2 separate regions of the Homo sapiens genome follow, and region 2 is linked to region 1. The links are contacts of gene promoters, found by promoter capture Hi-C in blood cells and fetal thymus (Javierre and others, 2016). All regions are on one chromosome and are shown on one strand. Each heading gives the region's core, a stretch centred on a gene start or on the middle of the fragment in contact. The rest is flanking DNA. Distances are from core to core; before and after follow the strand shown. Region 1 overlaps MINDY1 (MINDY lysine 48 deubiquitinase 1). Region 2 holds the start of VPS45 (vacuolar protein sorting 45 homolog).

Evidence for each region. Contacts are between HindIII fragments. The CHiCAGO score rates a contact against its expected background, and 5 or more counts as called.
Region 2: the fragment with the promoter of VPS45 here is called in contact with a fragment that was not itself captured in region 1 in 1 of 17 cell types (fetal thymus); the score reaches 7.0 in fetal thymus.

The regions. Positions count from the first base shown.
Region 1 is chr1:151,002,090-151,006,513 of GRCh38, forward strand. MINDY1 (MINDY lysine 48 deubiquitinase 1) reads right to left here. Exons shown (of 10, transcript NM_001376665.1): 1 at 4,223-4,424; 2 at 76-617. The coding sequence starts at 528. Among named protein-coding and RNA genes, the nearest start is that of MINDY1, 2.6 kb to the right of the region's middle. RefSeq lists an enhancer at 4,049-4,308. The HindIII fragment of the contact is 1,608 bases long and covers 1,452-3,059 here.
Region 2 is chr1:150,064,839-150,069,262 of GRCh38, forward strand. It overlaps VPS45 (vacuolar protein sorting 45 homolog), which reads left to right and starts at 2,938. Exons shown (of 15, transcript NM_007259.5): 1 at 2,938-3,112; 2 at 3,792-3,926. The coding sequence starts at 3,020. It also overlaps a transcript of OTUD7B not described here. RefSeq lists a silencer at 2,115-2,354 and an enhancer at 2,565-2,894. The HindIII fragment of the contact is 1,692 bases long and covers 1,565-3,256 here.

The DNA of each region.
Region 1 (4,424 bases), core at 1,006-3,505:
AGGATGATCAAGGAAGTAAGTCAGGGAAGAGTACTCCCTGATATTTTTTGCACCCCTAACTGCATGTTCTCTTACCTTCCACTGAAGAAAGAGGATGTTCATGATGGCAAGGAGAGGGCAAGGGCCGTTAGTGCTCTGGGTGATGATGGGTGTCTGTTCTCCTTTCCAAGGGATCCACTTGACACAGTAGAAATCTGGCTCAGGCTGTCGGGTCCTGGGGGACTGAGGAAGCTCCTGGGGCATGGAGCATGCCCTTATTGTCTCTACTTCAGGCAGTGTCCCAAGGGTTGGCCCCGGTGGAGCTGAGCTAGCTTCAGGCAGAGGGGACTCAAGGTTGTCCCCACACTGGCTAGGCAGCAAAGCTTGGTCTGCTGGCTCCCGTTCTCTAGCCTCCCCATCAGCATCTCTTGCATCTGTGTCCTGAGGGTGCTCATCTGGGCCTGCCAGAACCTCATGGTTTTCAGGGATGACTGCTTCTGCAGTCCCGGCCTTACCAGGGGCTGGATCCTCAGGCTGATGGTATTCCATGGTCAAAAGGGACTTGGCTGAGGGGCACTGAAGGTGTTTACTAACCTCAGGGACTTGCCTAAGCCAGGCTTGGGATGCAAAAGAGTGACCTGTCCAATAAGAAGGAAATCAGTGGGCTGGAAAGCAAACTAACCCAGAAAAGTCTTGGAAAAGGAATGTAGTGTAGAAGGCTGGCTAGTGTTTGTGCAGTAACTCCTGGCTATGGGCAGTATATGTGTAAACAGAAGGGCCCCGTGCTGAGCTCTTTCCACCTCTAACTTGCTGTGACCAGATGAGACCAAGAGGTCGTGGGGCTTCCAGACTTGGGAGGGAAGACTGGTGGGATTGAACACATGGGTGGAGTCAGCTTCCCTGAAACAGATCATGACAGGGAAGGGAGGAAAGACAGAGAGAAAGGGAGAGCACAAAGGAGAAAGAAGGATAAGAGGTGGAGAAAGAAATGTTAAATCTACGCTAATGGTTATTAATATGATGATCTTTAGCTTACTCTAATAGGCATCACATCAGTAACCCCCTCATAGCCATGACAGAGATAATTCCTCTGCCCTACCCCACACCCTGCCCCTTCACACAACATACTAAGAATACACAGTGCTTGTATGTTTAGGGATACCTTCTCTCTGCCTCACCCAAGGATAAAAAGATTAAGTCACATAGTACTTGGGGTGAAGAATGGAGGAGGCACAGAGAGTCAGTTTCATGCCCCTAAAGGTGAAATGCTGGTGAGGAAGGGGAAGTCTTCCACCTCAAAGGGCTCTACTGAACCTTACACAATCCCAAACCACAGTATAAAGGCCTTGGGAGGGGTTTCCTGTAAGCTGGGAGGGGAAATGTAGGTGGTGGGGGCTGGAATCAGAGACTGGTTTTGATAAATAACTTCAGATTAGGGGCACAAAAAGCACTCCCCACAAGTTCTTCCAGTAAGCTTCTCTTTAAAAAAAATTAATAAAGATATCAAATTTCTTTTAATTAAACTGAGACAGGGTCTTGCTTTGTTGCCTAGGCTGGTCTTAACTCCTGGGGGCCCAAGCAATCCGCCCTCCTCAGCCTGCCAAAGGACTGGGATTACAGGCATGAGCCACGGTGCCTGGACCCAGTAAGCATCTCTTGACAGCTAGCATTGAGACAGCAACTTTTCCTCAGTTCATTTTTTTTCCCCAGAAACTACCTAAACCCAGAGGTACTCTCTTGCCTGCTATTTCTATGAAATATGAAAATGCTGATTATTAATTTACATAACAATACTTCCTGTACATTCACCTACCTAAAGTTTTATGTCTATTCCCATCCAAGTGGTTTTATTTATTTATTTTTATTTTTTTGAGACAGAGTTTTGCTCTTGTTGCCTAGGTTGGAGTGCAATGGTGCGACCTCGGCTCACTGCAACCTCTGCCTCCTGGGTTCAAGTGATTCTCCTGCCTCAGCCTCCCGAGTAGCTGGGATTACAGGCATGCAACACCATGCCCAGCTAATTTTGTATTTTTTAGTAGAGATGGAGTTTCTCCATGTTGGTCAGGCTGGTCTTGAACTTCCGACCTCAGGTGATCCTCCCACCTTGGCCTCCCAAAGTGCTGGGATTACAGGCATGAGCCACCGTGCCCAGTCCTCTCCAGGTCATTTTAGATGTGAACACCGGACCTGTTTAACCTGTTCTCTATCAGCACTGGAGGCACATTGAGGCAAGCACAGATAGACATTTAACTAATACTGTGGGTATAAATAATAAAAAACCACAAATCCTGCCCTTTGGAAAACATCTCCCTTCAATCTCCTTGCTCCCCTCCCACTCTTTATCAGGGAGAGAAACAGGGAGAAATTAAACTAGTTAGGGGCCAGGCGCGGTGGCTCACGCCTGTAATCCCAGCACTTTGAGAGGCTGAGGCGGGCAGATTACTTGAGGTCAGGAGATCGAGACCATCCTGGCTAACATGGCAAAACGCTGTCTGTATTGAAAGTACAAAAATTAGCCAGGTGTGTTGGCACGTGCCTGTAGTCACAGCTGCTCGGGAGGCTGAGGTGGGAGAATTGCTTGAACCTGGGAGGCAGGGGGTTGCAGTGAGCTGAGATGGTGACACTGCACTACAGCCTGGGTGACAGAGCGAAACTCCATCTCAAAAATAAAATAAAATAAAATAAAATAAAATAAAATAAAATAAAATAAAATAAAATAAATTAAACTAGTTAGAAATCTTGTCTTTTCTCCACCCTCCTCCCAGCCTGAGACTGCTTCCTTCTTGTAAACCTACAGGAATTTGGGGCTAGGGGAAGGCCTGGGAGATGAGGTTGAGGAACATTAAAGTTACTGAAACAAAATAAGCCTAGTCACTCAAATTGATTATCCTCTTGATTCACATATGTTTATGCTAGCTGCATATCATTTACGTGTTGTTAATTTAGAATCAGAGTAGCAAAAATTGCCTGCAGGCCTTATGCTTTTTTTTCTCTCTCTTTCTCTCTCTCCTTTCCTTCTCCCCTTAAATGACACTTAGGGTGAACCTCAAAGCAGATGCCAGAGCCTGGAAAAGTGAAAAAGCTTGAAGAAAAGCAGGCCTTGGCCGGGCACAGTGCCTCACACCTGTATCCCAGCACTTTGAGAGGCCGAGGCGGGCGGATCACCTGAGGTCAGGAGCTCAAGATCGGCCTGGCTAACATGGCGAAACCCCATCTCTACTAAAAATACAAAAATTAGCCGGGCACGGTGGCGGGCACCTGTAATCCCAGCTACTCAGGAGGCTGAGGCAGGAGAATTGCTTGAACCCCGGAGGTGGAGGTTGCAGTAAGCCAAGATTGTGCCTCTGCACTCCAGCCTGGGTGACAAGAGTGAGACTCTTGCCTCCAAAAAAAAAAAGAAAAAAAGAAAAAAAAAAAAGAAAAGCAGGCCTTATTTTTTATATTTTCTCTCCAGTGCCAGAAATGATCAATGATGAAGTGGGGGTTGGGCAGCTAGCTGGCTGGAGAGGTGAGCCAAAGGAACCCAGGAGTGGACACCTGAGGGAGTGGGGTCTCAGAGGAACTGGGCAGAGCTAAATGGGCTAAGTCTTAAGAGGCAGGGGCAGGAAATGTAATGGAGGCTTTCTACTCTACAACGTCCAATCCTGCTGGGGAGGGCATGGAGTATTTCAGAGTAGGAAAGAATGAGGGAGAGGATAGTCAGATAAATCAAAGTTTCATTCTTTTCCTCCTCTTTCTTAGCTCGTCAAATCCTACACTTTCTCTCCAGCTGGAATTATGGTGGTGAGTGAGGGAGTTAAAATAATCCTGGCTCCTCCCTAATCAATGGCAGTAGAGAGCCGAAAGTTGGAAGAAGCACGTAAAACAGGTATGTAGCTTCAAGAAGACACTCCTTCTCTGTAGGAACAGTTCCCTTACTGTCTCACACCAATCTCCTTCTTAGTCTGACCTATGTCTTTGTGCAATCAATAGTTTAGATTTTCATCTCAGAATATGTCAACCATGGCCACAGTGCCCTGTATACTTGCTCACAAGGAGAGGGGGAAGGTTTCGTGCTTTCATTAAAAGGAGGAGGACCAAGCAGCATCCCCTTTACATGTCTCTCCTGACTTAGCTCCTCTAAGCAATCCAGACTTGCAGACCAAAGGTGGAAGGACAGCAGGTGTCAGCTCCCCAAAGCTGGAGAGGAAATAGAGAAGGGTGGGAGAAGAGGTGAAGAAGATGATTAAAATAAAGTTTTTACCTTAAAGAAGGGGGTGCTGTTCCAAGATTGAGAAGGAGGGTTCAGCCGTGGCAATGAGATGGGGGAGATAGGTGCAATGAAGGGGGCTGCCAGTGCCAGCTGCCTTCCAGCTGTCAACGCCTGAGCTTATACAGGTTTACACAGCTTTATAAGCGACGGTCCAGGCTGGGTTGTGGCCACTTCCGGACTCACGCCCAGTACT
Region 2 (4,424 bases), core at 1,688-4,187, 940 kb before region 1:
AAATAACTGAGTTGGCCATATTGTTATTATAATTATGCTGAAGCTTATTTACATATTCTTTGTTTTGTGTTGAAGCCTTGAGCTCTGGTGGGGGAAAATCATGATTTTGATTAAACACAAAATGGGCAGTTAAACCTCTAAATAGTATACATGGAGAAAGCTGAAGTACATTTAATTATTTAGATAATCATTCCTGATTATTTAACTTACATATTTACAAGCCTAAATAAAATGTACAAATGTAAATAGTGCTTTTTTTTTTGGAGACAGGTCTCACTCTGTCACCCAGGCTGCAGTGCAGTGGCACACTGTAACCTCAACCTCCTGGGCTCAGGTGATCCTCCCATCTCAGCCTCCCAAGTAGCTGGGACTGGAGGCGCTGGCCACCATGCCCAACTAATTTTTTGTATTTTTTTGTACAGACAGAGTTTCATCATATTGTCTAAGCTGGTCTTGAACTTCTGGACTCAAACGATTGGCCTCGCCTTGGCCTTCCAAAGTGTTGGGATTACAGGAGTAAGCCACGTGCCTGACCAATACTGCATTTTTTGACTTCCTGTTTTCTATCCTTAAAGCACTGATTTCTTGGACCCAGTGAAAACAAATTTTTCAAGTTGAAGATTTTAAGTTAATGTAGTCATTCATATTTGAAGGATGTCATGATTTATTTTTTAAATTTAATGTCTTTACTATTGAAAATATTTCTTGTTATTATAGTTTACTTATACCCTAAATTAAAAATAAGTAGGCACTTCATATTCTGGATTTGCTGTCACTTGCCTGCAACAAAACAAGTAACTGGGTTTATCCTGGATGAGTCACAAAGCAAGAGCTTGGATTTTATCATTGGTTTCAGTTCTATTTTTAGAGGTATGGGGATACAAAAGAAGTTCTTAATTTGGAGACATTTAAAATGGCTTGTGTGGTTTTCTTCAGGAAGGAAGGATGCTGTCTAACTTCAGGACCATCACAGCACCCTTTAAATATGTAATAATTATTTTGTTCAAAATGTTTATGTTCCATATCTTATCGCTCAATGTATAAAATATCACTGCCACTGACATCAATGAAATTTTATGTGAAATGGAATGAGTTAGTAAGTGTCAAGTAGGTATTTTCCTCGTCCCTCAAAAAGTTATGTGCCCAAGTATAAATCATCAAAAGGATAAAGATTCTTTCCATCTATTGCTTACAGACTGACTATTGTTTAAAAAGGCACGAATTTCATAGACAAGTCTTTATCTCCTTCTTTCTTAAAAAAGCACAGAAAATGGGGAAAAATCTTCTATACTGCAATCTAAATTATAGGTAAGAAAAATAAAAACCAAGTGACATAGGAGATTGGCAGTGAATTTTCAAATATCAGTAATTTACAGGATTTACAGGATTTTCATTAGCGTTGTTTCCATGTTTTCTGTAAGATACGAACATTTAAATTGATAAGAATGGAATGTTCATATAACATTTCTTGTATCCATTTAAAGATTCACATTTTCACTTTAATATATAACTTAAGACTTTTCTTTCAAAACACATCTAAAAATTAGTAAAATGCCTAAAGGGAAGCTTTATTTACTTGGTAGAAAAGCTGAAAGAAAAAAAACATATTCTTCACAATTTCAGAGGTGACAAAAATCTCTTATATTTCAGTAGTTTCTGATCTCCCTTAAGGGATTTGAGAATTATATATAATATTGCATAATCTTAAGCTGATTAATGTTAAAGTGCTATTGGTCTATTTTAACTGTGTACTTCTTAAAATATAATGAAAGAATTTATTTGGTAATCCTGAATCTATTGACCTCACAAACACTGGTCATTATTTTGGTGGAAATATTCATAAGCATTTTTAGTTACTGATTTCTAACAATTGTTTCTTATTATCTTCCTGATTTTACAATTCCCCAAAGTAAAGGTGCGAAAAACAAACATCTACCCTCCTTTTCGACAAATGCCATGATAGAGGGGAGACCTGTGTGGTGTAAAGACAAATGCAGACATTTGGAAGTTGATGGTTTTAAGATTCAGTAAAAACTTGAGAGTTTTGGCTTCAAATCCCCACGCTAGTTTTAGTTCTACCGGATACGTGTCCCCTACCCATTTCAAAGGACCCAGTCACCTCGGCTCTTGCCTGAGTTTCAGAGTCCCGCCGGAGTTAGAGCTGGCAGAGTCCAATTGCTCAGAGCGCCGAGGCGGGGGCGGGGCAGGGGGACGCTTGCAGGTCCGGTGGTCCCGCGGGCTGCGAGCCCCCACGGCCGACCCTAGCTGCAGACCCTCCTGGAGAACCTCAGGCCTTTCCCCCAGAAACATCCCTAAAAGGCGTTCCCTTTGTTCATTCATTCAACAAATATTTGTTCAATCTCATATGCCCCTCTGTCTTGGGAAAACCAATTAGGGCCTCTGCAGCCTCAACACAGGGGCACTGTTCCCGCCTATTAATGACGCAATGAACCCGGGAAGACGAATCTCGACCACTGTTTCGCAAATACCGCGTGTGATTTATTAAATGCCGTCTCTCCGAGTCCCAAGCGGCCGGGAGCATTATGCCACCTCCCTTGCCCTCATCTCTCACTGCCATGCAAGAAAGCGTTAATGGCAAATAGGGCACGTAGCCACACTCCGTCGTTCCTGCTTCCAAGCAAACCTTGTGCCAGGTTCCTCATTTCGCGAGGCTCCACTCTCTTGGGCTTCAGGCTGCCGCTGGGCCTCCAGCACCAAAGGGCAATAGGGGTCTGAGAGTCCGGGCCTCAGGCATCTTCAGGCCGCAGGTGGGTGGAGAATAACGCCCGCGCGTGGCAGCGGCCCAGGCCGTCTCAGCCGGATTTTTCCATCCCCGGGGTAGGCTTGGTCCCCTGTACACTCCAGCGGAACTACAACTCCCAGCACCGTGGCTGCCCGGACTCCCGGAAGCCGAATCCCGGCTGGGAGGAAGCAGCTGAGACCCGGCCAACAGACTGGGGGTTAATTTAGCCAGAAAAGGGGGCGGGAAGGGCTGTAGGGTACTTGTCAATTCGCCGCCATGAACGTGGTTTTTGCTGTGAAGCAGTACATTTCCAAAATGATAGAGGACAGCGGGCCTGGTATGAAAGTACTTCTCATGGATAAAGAGACGGTGAGTTTGCTTTTGCTCAGCATTTGTGAAGGAACCCTCTCAACCTTACAATTGCTCGTCCCATTCCACTGTAGGACTTAGCATTTAATTAAACATACGAAAATGAGGGTCGGTTTGTGTGGAATTGAAAAGTTGTTTATATAAAGCTTGCCCGGTGGGTTTTCAGTCTACATGGCTCCAGCCACTGCCTAGAGACTACTTCTACCCGGAACAATTTATTGGAATCAGAAATCCTTTTCTAAATGTCCCCGCCAAGAAATCATTAATATGTCAGAGCACTTGGAAGGCTTTGGGATGGGCCTACTGTTTCCACTCAACATTGTGTTTTTAAAGTAAAGCTGTTGGAGCTCAAGCTGAAATGACAGATTATTTGTTGGCCACAGACCAGAAAACAAAACTCTTTAAGGTGATAGAAAAAAATATTTTTGGAAACTTATGGATTGTTCCTGTTCAAAGAGACCATGTTTTTTGTTTTTAATCTTGAAGCTTCAGCTGAAAGGATAGAGCGTATTTTTCATTCTCGTATGTTACCTACCTGTTTGGATGTTCAGTAAATGTTTTCCGTATATTACTATTTAAGTTATCCAGCTAAGTATTAATGAAAAAAGAGGGTTAGATGTGCTACTTGTTTTTATTATTCTAGACTAGCATACTTTTAGTTAATCTTTTGTTTTTACAGACTGGCATAGTGAGTATGGTATACACACAATCGGAGATTCTACAGAAGGAAGTGTACCTCTTTGAACGCATTGATTCTCAAAATCGAGAGATCATGAAACACCTGAAGGCAATTTGTTTTCTTCGACCTACAAAGGTACTGCATAAACTGAGCTTCCATCTGCCCAGGCAGATGCAGAACACTCTGATCTGAAAGCATTAAGAAGGCAAAATAAATTTGTATTATCATAATTTGTGGCATCATAATTATCCTGGTTCATCAGTGTTATAACCTTCATTTTTCTTGTTTTGTTTCCATATTTCAGTTGACCCCTTACAGCCAGTTCTTCCTTCAAGATGTTTTTTAGGTTCACAGCCATTCCCATTGCCACTAATGAACTACTCTTAACGGAGACCCACATTACTTTATTCCTGGATTAACCTCCGTATCTGTCACATTGAACACCATCAACACTTAATTTTATATACAGCTATGAGTGTCTTGAATCTTTGCCACTTTATTCACATTTATGCTCAGGAACCTGTGGTGGCTTGATGTTACTTCCATGATTAAATCTATATTTAGCCCAGCCATTAAAGCCCTACTTTGTTGGTTTGATCTGCCCATGTGTATCCAGCCTTCCTATGTCCTAGG